Linked DNA regions of Homo sapiens: all the other regions are linked to region 1. The links are contacts of gene promoters, found by promoter capture Hi-C in blood cells and fetal thymus (Javierre and others, 2016). All regions are on one chromosome and are shown on one strand. Each heading gives the region's core, a stretch centred on a gene start or on the middle of the fragment in contact. The rest is flanking DNA. Distances are from core to core; before and after follow the strand shown.

The links. The method cuts DNA at HindIII sites, captures the fragments that hold promoters and counts their contacts. A CHiCAGO score of 5 or more calls a contact.
Region 2: a fragment that was not itself captured here is called in contact with the fragment with the promoter of C9orf152 in region 1 in 3 of 17 cell types (naive B cells, endothelial precursors and total B cells); the score reaches 8.0 in naive B cells.
Region 3: a fragment that was not itself captured here is called in contact with the fragment with the promoter of C9orf152 in region 1 in 1 of 17 cell types (total B cells); the score reaches 6.8 in total B cells.

What each region holds. Positions count from the first base shown.
Region 1 is chr9:110,206,872-110,211,377 of GRCh38, reverse strand. It overlaps C9orf152 (chromosome 9 open reading frame 152), which reads left to right and starts at 3,219. Exons shown (of 2, transcript NM_001012993.3): 1 at 3,219-3,991. The coding sequence starts at 3,799. RefSeq lists enhancers at 3,549-4,049, 4,050-4,506. The HindIII fragment of the contact is 8,259 bases long and covers 1,883-4,506 here.
Region 2 is chr9:109,876,352-109,881,027 of GRCh38, reverse strand. It overlaps PALM2AKAP2 (PALM2 and AKAP2 fusion), which reads right to left. Exons shown (of 11, transcript NM_007203.5): 3 at 347-477. Among named protein-coding and RNA genes, the nearest start is that of PALM2AKAP2, 98 kb to the right of the region's middle. The HindIII fragment of the contact is 1,499 bases long and covers 1,385-2,883 here.
Region 3 is chr9:109,858,114-109,862,952 of GRCh38, reverse strand. All of the region lies in intron 1 of PALM2AKAP2 (PALM2 and AKAP2 fusion), which reads right to left. Among named protein-coding and RNA genes, the nearest start is that of PALM2AKAP2, 80 kb to the right of the region's middle. The HindIII fragment of the contact is 1,339 bases long and covers 1,253-2,591 here.

The DNA.
Region 1 (4,506 bases), core at 1,970-4,469:
GGTTATAACTATTGTTTTCATATGTCTAGCCTAGCCTCTCTTTTTTCAGAGAGGAATCTCCCTTACTCTTAAGGCTGAGAGCTTTGAATTTTTTAGTCTGTCTGCCCTGAAGCACTTCTTGACATCCTGAGTCCTTCTTCGTCATACTTGGCTCTCCTGTGGACACTGTCATTCATACACCTGCAAATCACAGTCCACTCCATAGGACAAGGTCCCCTCCTCATTGGAACCAGAGAGAAGAGAGCACAGGGAAGCCTCCATCCCTTGCAATCTTGCCCTCTTGATTCTCTAAGGCTAGATCACTAGGCTTCAGGGATGGGATAATCTCAGAGCGAACTTATTATAGGGGAGAGGAAAAGTGAAAGAACAGGGTAACTCAAGTTTTCCTGGAGTCTCCAGTGGAAAGAACTCCAAACTGAAGTTCTTCACAAGAACAGGATCCACCACTCCTGTCCTGCCCCCACTGTATACTGGGCTGACCCAGCCTGCTGCTCTCAAGCCAGCTCCCTAAGGGATTCCTTCTTCAAGTCTCTGAGTCTCTACCCACCAATGACTGGTCTTTGTATGGACAGGGTTATTGTCTGAGTCATTCTCTCTGGAGTGGTACCCCAGTTGTGAGTGATACCTGTTGCCACTCAAGTCTCACAGAATAGCTGGATCCCCTGGACAGGAGTGGACCTGGAGCCTCTGGTCTAAGTTATTTTACTGGAAGCTCCAGGGAGGGCTGTAGGGATGCTGGTTCCGGTAATGAACTAACCTGCTACATTAAGCACAGTCTTATCTCTCAACCAGAATGGGACATTTCATGTTCCATACAGTTTACATATATACAGAAAAACAAAATATTCCCTAGAATCACAAGACATCTTATTCCTACTCCAGCGTCTCCAGCCCTGAACAACTTTGAAGCTTATTTCCAGTTCCTCTGAAGGATATACCTGGATAATGAAAGTCACCCATTTAGTGGCAGCCACCCAGAACAAACTCCAGGCTTGATCATCTTTTTTCATTTATTTCTGAAGACTCCCTGGGATGAGATAGAGTTGCCAGTTTTTTCTTATACTATTGTTATTGTTATCACAGACCAAGGAAAGGAAAGTTTATTCAGTAAGTGCTATTGAAACAACTGGTCAATTATTTGGAGGAAAAAACCCCTAGATCCTTGCCTTATACCTAACACAACACCAAAATAAATTTCAAATGGATTAAAGATTTGAGTTTTAAAAGAAAGAGGAACTATATGAACTAAAAGAAGGAATTTAAGCTCCTAAAAGGCATTCAATCAGCAGTAGACAGCCTCAATTTACTTCTCATCAAAATATCCACAAACGCACCCATATAGAAAAAGACAAAAACTGTTAATACTAAAAGATGAAGGCTGACAAGTAAATGCGAAAATATAGTAGAAATTTCTACTGCCATTATTTCTCTCCTCCTCTTCTCTTCTCTTCTCTTCTCTTCTCTTCTCTTCTCTTCTCTTCTCTTTTCTTTCTGAGACAGGAGCTCACTCTGTTACCCAGGCTGAAGTACAGTGGTGCAATCATGGCTCATTTCAGCCTCGAGCTTCTGGGTTCAAGTGATCATCCCACCTCAGCCACCCGAGTAGCTCGGACTACAGGCATGTGCCACCATGCCTGGCTAATTTTTGTAGATACAGAGTTTCACTATGTTGCCCAGGCTGGTCCTGAACTCCAGGGCACAATCAATACACCCACCTCAGCCTCCCAAAGTGCTGGGATTACAGTTGTGAGCCATTGTGGCCAGCCTACTGCCATGATGTCTACTGCCATGATTTCATGGCAGGTGCAGCTGGTCCAGCATGGATGGGTTGCTCTTGCCTTCATGATAGAGTGATCTACCGATAAAAAGGTATGAGGAAGCTTTGGCTATCTCTCTCGGTATTTTTTTGAGACAGATTGAGCTCTAATCCAATGTGATTGCTGTACTTATAAAAAGGGGAAAATTGGGCACAGAGACACCCACATAGGAAGAACATCATATTAGGCCGGGTGTGGTGGCTCACGCCTGTAATCCCAGCACTTTGGGAGGCCAAGGCGGGCGGATCACAAGGTCAGGAGATCGAGACCACGGTGAAACCCTGTCTCTACGAAAAATACAAAAAATTAGCTGGGCGCGGTGGCGGGTGCCTGTAGTCCCAGCTACTCGGGAGGCTGAGGCAGGAGAATGATGCGAACCCGGGAGGCAGAGCTTGCAGTGAGCTGAGATTACGCCACTGCACTCCAGCCTGGGCGACAGAGTGAGACTCCCTCTCAAAAAAAAAATAAAATAAAAAAATAAAAAGGAAGAACATCATGTCAAGATAAAGGCAGAGATTAGGCAATGTTTTTGCAAGCCAAAGAATACCAGAGATTGCTAGCAAACCATCAGAAGCAAGGTGAGAGGCATGGAACAGATACTCTCACACAGCTCCAAGAAGAAACCAACCCTGCTCACACCTTGACTTTGGACTTCTAACCTCCAGAACTCTGAGACAATAATGTTTGTTGTTTAAGACATCCAGTTTGTGGGATTTCGTTATGGCAGCCCTAGCAAAACTAACATATACTACCCAGTGAAGATTTGCTCTCCATCTTCCACGGCTCCCCCACATCAAATGACTAGATCTTGTCTGGTTAATGTCCAAAATGTCTTGTAGGTTCAGGCTCTACTCTGTTTCCATTGCCTCTGTAGACATATTGGGTAATTGGGTAATCAGTAAGCACCGTGATAGGAGAAGATAGAAAGGGACTTAGTTGACCAAATGCAGCAAGGCTAGGTCAAAGCTGGTGTAAGAGGGAGAGGGTCTGGGATTCAAAAGCAATGTGGAAATGTTGAGGCTGGCAAGCAGAGAGTGAGGGGATGCCTAACTTACCACTTGGTTGGAGAATGCTGAGACGGCAGAGGCTGCACCAAATGTCCAAGGGGTAGGGCTGGCCCGAGGCCAAGATTCCCCTGGGCTCTGTCCCATGGCTGACTTTAGGGCTGAATTTTCACCTGGGGTGTGTGTTGGGGTCTGAGTGGAGATCTTGGGGAGATCTTTGCTACTGGGTTTCTTTAGGGTGTGGCCGCGGGGCACACATCCAGAGGCACCGACCTTGTGAAGCTCCCGAGGGTGTTCTTTGAACTACTGCAAACCCAACCGGCAGGTTTGCTGAAAAGTGGCCACGTTCCAGTCCAAAATGTGTGAGCAGAGCGCGAGCTTAGCACTCCCCAGCCCCAGTCCCAGCTCTGCCAGGAAAGGGGAGACTTCACCGTGGCACTGGGAATTGGATTCTAAACTTTAGGATCAAGCAATGGAAGGACCTGGAATAAGACACCTTCTTGACCCCCCTGAAGGGCTCTGAGCAGCTGGGCTTGCCTTTCTCTTTGCTCCCCCAGTCCTCCCCTTACTTCTCGGTCTCCCACTCCCCATCACTCCTTTCCCTGCCTCCTCCTGCCTGTCTCCATCTTCCTCCCTCTCTTTCTTCTCTCGCCCCATTAATCCCCGCTTGTCACTATCACCTCCTTCCTCCAGTCTTTCCCCCTTCGCTGCCCCTTCTTTCCTCTGACATTTCCTTCTCCTCTTACTGCCACTGTCTCCCACCTTTCTCCTCCCCCACATTTCTCCCTATCCCTACCTCCTCTTCCCCTTCATCTTTCTCCTTCCCCCTTATTTTTCTATCTCCTTCCTCAGTCCCACTCCTCTTTCCACCCTCCTTTTGCCCGTCACTTCTCCTTCTCCCTCACTGCCCCCTCCCTCTCTCTCCCCTCCCCAGGTCCTGCCCCACCCAGCTGTGTTTGCTTTTCTCCCGGATCCGGATGGAGGGGTTGCCCTGCCCGTGCCCAGCCCTGCCCCACTTCTGGCAGCTTAGGTCTCACTTAATGGCTGAGGGCTCCAGGACTCAGGCCCCTGGGAAAGGGCCCCCACTCAGCATCCAGTTCCTGCGAGCCCAGTATGAAGGCTTGAAGAGGCAGCAGAGGACCCAGGCCCACCTCCTGGTGCTTCCAAAAGGTAGGAATGGACAGGTGCTGGGGAAGGAGAGACTTACCATGGGAGACCTGAGTGGCAGAGCTGCAGGGAGGCAGAGCCAGGGCTTTGCCAGCCCTCCCTCCCAGTGGGGAAGAGCAGGGGAGGCGGGCTCAGGGCAGCTCTGCTCAGCTGTCCCACCTGCTAAGGGAGCCAGGGGCCTCAGCCAAGCACCTGGCTGCCAGCACTGTTCCTGGCCTCTGCTCTGATGTTCTAATCTTGCTAGACTGGTCAGCCTGGTGAGCCAGGCTTGGCCCCCCTGCTAGCCCAGGTATGGCGATAGGAGCTCTGCTTCCTGGCTGGGTCTAACTAAGGCACCTCCTACAAACCAGAGAAATTCACTCTGGAGGTAGAAGACATGGCGTTCCCAACAGCCTGGGAACTGTCTGGGCCAGAGGACGCCTAGGGCTCAGAGACCCATGAGGCATCCCAGGCTCATCCAGCCTCAAACATCAGGCAGGGAGGTGTGATTGGACACAGAAACCCCCTCATGGGGAGAA
Region 2 (4,676 bases), core at 885-3,384, 330 kb after region 1:
AGAGAATCAGGAAAAATAACTAACGGGTACTAGGCTTAATACCTGGGTGGTGAAATAATCTGTTCAACAAATCCCCACGATACAAGTTTACCTATGTAACAAACCTGTATTTGTACCCCTAAACTTAAAATAAAAGTTAAAAATAAAAATAAAAAATTATTAGTACTCTGTGTCATAACTCTGGGTCATCTGGAAAAGTTTAAACAACATCAATGTGCTTTGTTTAGGAAGAAAATTCTCAAGTACAGGAGAAGGTAACAGTATTGAGAAAGGCCACCTAGAGGAGAGCAGTGGTTACTGCACTGAAAAACTGTAGCATGGGTTCCCTGGGCTGGAAGCCACCTACCTCTGAATGTTATCTTCAAGTTGCTTGACTCTGAACTCATCCTCTTCAGACTGCCGCCTCCTGGCTTCCTCCTCTTCGGCAGTTCCAGCGGGTATGCCCTGCAGCAGCCATTTCTCCCGAAGCACTTTGGACTGTGGAAGTGAGGGAAGACAACAGACAAGATGATACTTTTCAGTCCACACTGTCCTCTCCCTCTGCAGTGGTGCTGTTTTAGCTCCACCCCTCACCAGCGCTGCCTGAATCGCTGCCTTCACCTCCTCACTAACATGGCTCCCTACTTCCCTCTAGATCAACACCCAAGGAGATTTATCTCTATATCATTTTCTATTATTAAAAAAATTTAAAAATAGAACTGTATAATGAATGACCATGTAACCTCATCTAGATTTAACAATTATGAACATTTTGCCATATTTTCCCATATGTTTCTCATCAAATGATTTTAAACTAAATAACAACCATATTTTACCCAACAATATGTCAGTATGAGTCTCTAAAAATTAAGAACATTTTTCTATGCAACTGTAATTTAATTAAAAAACTTCCTAAGACCACCTAATATCTGGTCCATATTAAAGTGTTTTAAAAAGATTGTCAAGACTCTTCTTCAATGACTCCCTTCTTTAATGACTCCCAATCATCTTCAGTAATAATCTCCAAATGTTATAAAAATCATATGCCCCTAGATGGGCACCGTGGCTGATGTCTGTAATCCCAACACTTTGGGAGGCTGAGGCAGGAGGATTGCTTGATTCCAGGAGTTGTAGACCAGCTTGGGCAACATAGTGAGACCTTGTCTCTACAAAAAATTAAACAATTAGCTGGGTGTGGTGGTGCACGCCTGTAGTCCCAGCTACTTGGGAAGGCTGAGGTGGGAGGATCGCTTGAGCCAGGTAGGTCAAGGCTGCAGCGAGCTGTGACCGTGCCACTGCACTCCAGCCTGGGTGATAGAACGAGACCCTGTCAAAAAAAAAAAAAAAAACCATACATCCCATGTTTGCAAGTGTACTACGATACAGTACAGTGGAATAAAAAGCTTTTGTTTCAGGTCAATGGTTCGGAGGCAGCAATTACTGCTTTGAGAAGGGAAATGAAAACAGTTCCAGAAAAAAGCATGTTGAAATTCCCTAAAAGGAAGAGCAAGGAGAGGTAGATGTGAGAGGATAATTTTGATTCAGGTTCCACTTATATGGTCCCTAGATGGCAGACGGCAGCAGCTACTGACCCTGTACATCATGGCTAAGGACCAGTGACCATGCCCATGGGCAGGTCAGTGGTCACCAGAGGGGACCACAGTGAGGATGCAGGGCACATGAACAATTCTTCCCAGAAATAGTAAGCAACGAAAGGAACAGCAGGAGCAATGACTATTAAGCCACCTAACACAGAATAAAGACCTGGCTCTTTGGCTCCCTGGCTCACTGGCATCACCTCTGTCCAGAATTTCGTTTGATCTCATCAGGCAGGGTGAGCGAGGTGAAAGGAAAGAACTCTTCTAAAGACTGAGAGCCAGGGAATGGAGGCTTGGAGCACTCCCTGAAGCTCTTATGAGCGAAGGATGCACAATTCCATAGACTCTCATTTGTATGCGGCATTAAGGGCATTTTATTATGAACTGATGAGTCTTTAAAAATAACCAACACTGGGCTGGGCACGGTGGCTCGCGCCTGTAATCCCAACACTTTGGGAGGCCAAGGCAGGCGTATCACCTGAGGTCAGGAGTTCGCGACTAGCCTGACCAACATAGAGAAACCCCATGTCAACTAAAAATACAAAATTAACCAGGTGTGATGGCATGCGCCTGTAATCCCAGCTACTTGGGAGGCTGAGACAGAAGAATCACTAGAACCTGGGGGGCAGAGGTTGCAGTGGGCTGAGATCATGCCACTGCACTCCAGCCTGCGCAACAAGAGCGAAACTCCGTCTCAAAAAAAAATTACCAACACTTAGTATTAGTAAGTTAGACTTCACTAATGGTCCTGATTCACCATTCTATTGAGAAGTCCAGGGGTCATCTGGTGCTGTAGACACCCTGCTCCATGCCCAGGAGCAAGTTCAATCAACCTGGAATTCCTGCACTTCCAGGAGAGACTCTGTGTTGACAATACATCATCAGTGTGGGTTCAGGTGACCATGGTTTTTATTGATGTTATTCTTGCCTTTTCATTACAAATCATTGTTTGTAGAGATCTCTTTGATTACTCTTGCAGCACATAGGCAAATTTATGGTACTTGACCTGTAATTTTTTAATAATTAGGCTTAAAGACTTGAGTTTGTTCACATAGAATTATTCCTAACTATACTCTTACAGTGATTATAGACAGGATCCACCCCCACACCTCAATATGCGTAAACAGCTATGCATCACTGGTGACATGCTGCCTGTTGAATGTGCTCTGTATAAATAGTGTGCATCTACCACCAGGGTAGGTATTAAAATGTACAGTTTTTACATTATAGGGCATCGTATGATAGTATAAAATCATGTGTAAAAGAGGGCAGTACAATTTGCTTACGTTGGTTGCTTATCAAAGCTTTATCAGAGATTCTTTTCCATTGGAAAGTGGGAAAGGGTGGGGCAAATCGGTTGCTCTTTCTACAAAACATTCAGAACCATTGTTCTCCACAAAAACCTCTCAAAATTTCCCCGACAGACCCTGTTTTGCACATTATGAGAGGCCATTTTTTAATCAATTCATGTTTTTATATTTTTATTCAGATACTTAATCTGTTGTAGGCACAAAATAAATTGTTCATTGGTAGCAATTCTGAAGTAGAAGAATGATTATTGCTTTGCTTTTCTTGAACTATAACTTGGCTCTGAAATTTACTCTCAGGAAGAGGGTAGAGACTGCAAGAGGCCATGCTGAACAGTGGCTAACAGCCTGAGCTCTGGAACCAGTCTGCCATTTACCAGCTGAGTGAGCTTGGACAGGCTCCTTCGCCTCACTGAGCCTCAGTTTTCTCATCTGTAAAATGGAGAAAATAGCAGTGCCCAGCTCAGAGGGTTGTTATGAGGATTAAAGGAGTTTATAGGCTAAAAGGGCCACACACATACTTAGTACTATAGAAATGTTTACTATTGTTGTTGTCCATCCTGTTCCCTTGGCCTCTGCTTTATTTACCTAAGAAAGAACAAGTAAAATACCACCAGAGAAGCCTTCCACCTCTACTGGCTCTGAGACACACTCTATGGCCCTTTCATACTATCCTCAAATTCTTTCTTTTTACATCTGTTCCCCCTGTAGCCTGCTGGTTCCTGGAAGGCTAGGACTGTCCTTTATCCACCTTCACATTCACTGTGTCACCTAGAATTTCCCAATTCATCCATTTATTCATTCAGTCAATGGAATTGTAGCCCAATTCCCTATAATGAATGAGTAAATGGATGAACTGGGAAATTCTCAACTTTCCTTCTCTCTAATTATTTGGGAGGGGTAGGGACCACACTTTCAGGGTGCTTCCTGTGCTAAAGATGTCCAAACCACAGATAGTAAAAACCTTAGGATTCTGGGGGATAGACATCCTGGAAGCCTTGGCGTTGGTGTGGACCCTTCTGGAAAAGCAGCCATGGACAGTCCTGGCTGTCTCCACACCAGCAGGGATGTTCTGCAGCCACAACTTCTTGCAACGTAAATGGCTGCTCTTGGAATGTTCTCTCTGCTGTTCTTCACACAGTGCCTCCTGCCATCACATGAAGGGTCTAGCCCCTCACTTCTCACCAACTTAGCTGCCACCATCAGCAGGTAGCTCTGGCCAGAGCAGCCTGGTGACTCTGGTCACCCAGAGGTGCATGTCCCTCTACTTCCATCTCTTTTCTTGATATAGGCATGACATCATTAAGAACATCCCAACAGGAGGAGCCAGGAAGAGAGGCTCCAACAGACAAAGGCAGTAGTGGGGCTGGGTGTGGTGGCTCATGCCTGTAATCCCAGCACTTTGGGAGGCCAAGGCAGGTGGATCACCTGAGGTCAAGAGTTCGAGACCAGCCTGGCCAAAATGGTGAAACACCATTTCTACTAAAAATACAAAAATTAGCTGGGTGTGGTGGCGAGCACCTGTAATCCCAGCTACTCAGGAGGCTGAGGCAGGAGAATTGCTTGAACCCAGGAAGCAGATGTTGCAGTGAGCCGAAGATCACGCCACTGCACTCCAACCTGGGCAACAGAGCATGACTCTGTCTCAAAAAAAAGAAAGAAAGAAAAAAAACTGGAAAAGGCAGTGGGCCTGGTCTCAGAGAATCCTGTTTCACAAAGGTGTTTAGACATTTTTAAGAAGCCGAAAAAGCATAGTTGATTTTCTACTTGGCTCCAAAGTCATGCTTTCAGG
Region 3 (4,839 bases), core at 673-3,172, 350 kb after region 1:
AGCCATGGCCCCCTACCATGATCCAACCTCAAAGACTACTTGCAGTCTCCTGATCTTCCCGGCTGGTTCATGTCCTCTTAGTTTTGTTCTTATTGCTTCCTCTAACAATAATCGATGTGCACTGCTGCTTCATTTGACAAAAAACAATTCATCTATGATGGCACAGTTTAAATATCCATGAAGCTTTAATGAACATCTGTCAATTTTGATCTGCCTAGTCTTCTTTCCTTTGGGGAAACACATCTACCCTCACTGTAAATGGCTCTGGTGGAAATGCCAGTCATGGTTAGCTCATTCCTGCCACTAGGACTTGTTTGTGAGCCAGGTTAGGCCAATCATGCTACCTCGTTTCTTTGCAATAGCTATTGATCCAAGGGATAGCTAAGTGAACTGAGAAACACCAGTTAGAGACATTTCTAGGGACAGACACACGGATACCAGGAGAGAAGTGAAAAAACATACCACTAGGATTAAGCTGAGATGATGTACTTCTGAGTAGCAATTTTTCCAAGTCACATAAAAGAAATGCATCTACATTGAAGAAAATAAAGTCAACATGCAGAGGGAGGCAGAGTTGAAAGAGAAAAAAGGGTCCTACTACATTGTTTGAGTCCCAGATCTAGTCATGCATGAAGCCAGAACCATCCCCAGGCTTCCTAAATTATATACACTAATAAATCTCCCATTTTCTTAAGCTAGTTTGAGTGATGTTTCTACCACTTACAACTCAAAGAGTACTGACAAATACAGAAGATTTTTCTGTTCCCTCCAAATAGATTGCATCACTCCCTCCTTTCTCTTCCCTCCCCACAGGCTGTGGATTTTTCTACATTAGACCTCAAGCACTGTAGCACTTTATACACTTAACTATTTACACATCTTCTCTCTCTAACAAACTATGGGCTCCTTGAGGACAAGGATCTTGGCTGACACATCTCTAAAGCCTAGAATATTGTATGATGAATACATGTAATTTATGCTTACTGAGTATCTCTGAGTGTACTATCCTCTTTTTTCTCTCTTCCACTTGTGTTCCTGTTTGTCCATATCCCTCATTCAAATGAATTACGAATTTGTACTCATGACTTCAATAGAAGCAAAATACATTATTAAAAACACATTGGCCATCAGTCCATAAAACCAGAAGTGTCCTAATGCTAAAGACATTAACCCACATGAAATAAATTACTGTTGCTATGCATATGAGGAAAGAGTTGAAAAGGCTAATTCTGGGAAAGAATCATGGAAAGCTTATTCTGGGGAGAAAGGCGGGGGAAGTGGAAATTCCAGGGAAAAGCATAATGAGCTGACAGTAGCAACCATTCGGGGCAGTGTGCCTCAAGAGACATCTGGAATGACGTGATCTCAATCCATTAGAAAGACTTCCAGATTCCTCCACTATCTGGGAAGGCTAACAAGCCACTTTCATTCACTTTCTATAAATTATATATTTTCCTGGCAAGTATTTTCTGGAAGGATTATAACATGATAGAACATGTTATAATCATAACATGTTCGTAACATAACACGTAAACTATTGTTAAAGAGCACCCGTAGAGAATGAAGCACATTCTGTTCAATAAATATGATGAGAAGACAGACATGGCAAGCACCTGTTGTTAGGAAAGCCTATTTCCACCTTTTTGCTCCTTGAGACTCCCTCTTCTCTCCTGCTGACTGTGCTGCAACTGGAGCACTAGGAGATGCCAGGCTGTGGCTGTGGACAAGGTGGGTGTCCCAACTGAGTGTGTGAGAAACAGGGAGACAGGGAAAGAGGCTAAGCAGGGAAGGTAGTCAGAAGCAGAAATAGGGTGTTTCCTTTCCTCCACTGAACCCCCATTCTAGCTTGCGCTGATACCTCGCGCCCCAGGGCACAGCAGTGGGAAGGGACCAGAAGACCTACTCAAGGCCCTCTTGCCATCATGAGATCACAGAATTTAGACAAGAGGAGGGTAAAGAAAATATATTAAATTGTAAACGTTGCAATCTTTATTCTTTCTATTGCTAGATGAAGATAATTCAGCTTTGACTTCCTTCCATGTGAGCTAAAGGGAATCTTGTTTCCTTGCCCCAAACCTTTTAAGTGACTTTTTGCCAGAGGATTCCTAGGCTTTTGAAATGAAGAATCAGAGAAAGAGGTAAAGTACTGAAAAACTGCGAGAAACAGACTGTTTTATATAGTTGCACTTGGAAAGGGAATGGGTGGGGATGCTATTTAGGGGGAAAAATGATCGAGAAAAGGAAAGAAGAGATGAAGAAGTAAAGCACTGAAAGGGGTCAGAGACAGTTTAAAGTTCAAGAGTTTAAAATGAAAAGGCTGAGATATTAAGGCCAGGAAATCAGGAAAAGAGAATCTTGAGATATTTTACTGTGGCTTATAAAATGAATCCCCTCTGATGTTCTCCAGAAGATTCCAGTAAGGATACTGAAATTACTTTGGCCAACTAGCCTGTGTTCCTTTGAATATAACTTCATGCTGAAACTGGATTGCCAGGATACCTAGGTTTTATCTGGGTTACACCAAGAAATAAGGTGACATTTTGAGAATTAAATTATGAAAAATCAACTTGCAAGTGGGGACCCAACAAGCTTTTTCTATTAAGAAATCACAATGTCATCTCAGACATGGTTGGGTTATAATTACCTTTCTAACACTACTGCAGATTCAATGCTATTTATACATCTGAGGGGAAAAAAAAGAAAAATAGTCTGTCTAAAAACTGAAAACCTGAGTAATCAAGCATAAAAAAAATTGAAGAGGTGCTCACTCAGCTTTGTCCAATCGCCTGTCCAGCTAACAAGTAATGCTGAGTTTGCTCAGCAGACACATCCCTGTTCGAGATCAGTTATCTCATCTCAACACCATCAGATATTAAAACTCACTCTCCTGGCTCTGTCTTCAAGATCACCAATCATAATCCTGATTTCTATTCAGGCTTCCTATGTAGTTAGCTAAATGGAGAGATGGTACTTGCTAAGACCCCTGCAGTGTCCATCCACTGAAAAATAAATAGACACTTGGGTTTGTAGATAAGTAGCTGAAAGCTAAGTTGGCATGTGATTTTCTGATCCTACAAAACTAAGAAACAGAACTCAGAGCCATTTTAAATGACAGCCTTAAAAGGCTTGGTCAGAAGAACAAGTAAGGTAGGTTTTCTACATTGTTCTGCCTAGCCATGTACCCATTTAACCCGCAACATCACCAGGTGAAGTGGATAATTCCACAACTCTATTTATTCCTCATCCCTTAGTTTGGACCAGCATTTCCATCTACATAACTTCTCTTTTCTTCAACTGATTATTTGGACTTGAGCTTGCCATCTATCTGTAAAAGAAGGAACTGCCAGCTTTGTATTGTTTTCTGTAGTTATTTACTTTTAATTGTTTTATTGACATATGATATTTGTACACATTTGTTGGGTACCTGTAATATTTTGTTACATGCATAGGATGTATAATAACCAGGGTGTTCAGGACATCCACCATCTCGTGTATTTATCATTTCTTTGTGTTGGGAACATTTTTAGTCCTCTCTTCCAGCTATGTTAAAATCTAAAATATATTGTTGTTAACTAAAGTCACCTTACTGTGCTATCCAACCTTAGATCTTATTCCTTCTACCTAACTGTATAATTGTACCCATTAACCAACCTCTCTCATCCTCCACTACACACACTCCCTTCTCCACTTCTTGTAACTTATTATTCTACTTTCTACCTTCATGTTTCATTTGTAATAGAAACAATATGGTCAAGAGAATTTTTAAAAGAAAAAGAAGACATTGATTAGTTCGAGCCTCAATACTGGATTTTAGAAGGGGTAATTTAACACCCAAAACCTTAAGAAACATCCCATAGAATTTAGATGCAATATTATCATTAATTTCACCCAACAGTTAATATATCTGGCCTATTAGTGCCAAGTCAAATGCACAACACAGCAGAGTTTCCATTTAGGGTCCTTTATAGATACTTTATAGCCCATATGGGTTATATCTTAAGTCTGTTTTTTAAGGTCTGCCCACGGTGTGACCCTTTAAGTAATTATTTAACCATAGAGCTATACTTTTGCTTTGATGGTCATAACATCAAATTCTTTGCTAGGAGTGCTTCACTTTGGTTTCCTCTAAAGACCAAGAAGGGAAGTGGTCTGATATGGGCTCTGATGAGAAAGTAAGACCCGCTTTATGACACCACATTGATAAGCCCCTTGTGGTGGAAAAATCCAGCACTTTCTGTACAGGTAGGCAGAATGGTAGAGGACTCTGAAAAAGTCCCAAATGGCAGGAATAACAGAATCAAACTCTCCCGAAGAATGTGATCTCCATCTCATCCCTCTCCGTGTGTTGCCTTATTCCCACCATGAAGTCTCGTGAGCAGAGTCAGGAGATCTCGTATCAGGTAGGGGCTCTGCCACGAACTCCCTGAGTGACTTAGACAAGTCCCTTATTGTTTCTGGGCCTTGGATCCCCAGCCTGTGAAATGAGTAGGTTGGGCCAGCTTAGCTCTAAGTTTCCTCCAGCATCACTAACATTCCACAGTGCTAAGGAGAACAACGACTTCACACGTTCCAGACTGTCACATGTGCCCTTCCTGAGTTATAAAGTAATGCTAGCAAACATTTACATAGTGGTCACTGTGTGCCAGGCACTGTTTTGTGTGATTTAACATGTTTAATCTTCACAACAACCTAATGAGTTAGGTACTATCATTATCCCCATTTTACAGAGGAGAAAACTGAGGCACAGGAAGATAAAGAGACAGGGTCACATGGCTAGTAAGCATCAAACAATTGGAACTCCGTCTGAAATACTGAAATAGAACTACCTGCAAAATGCTA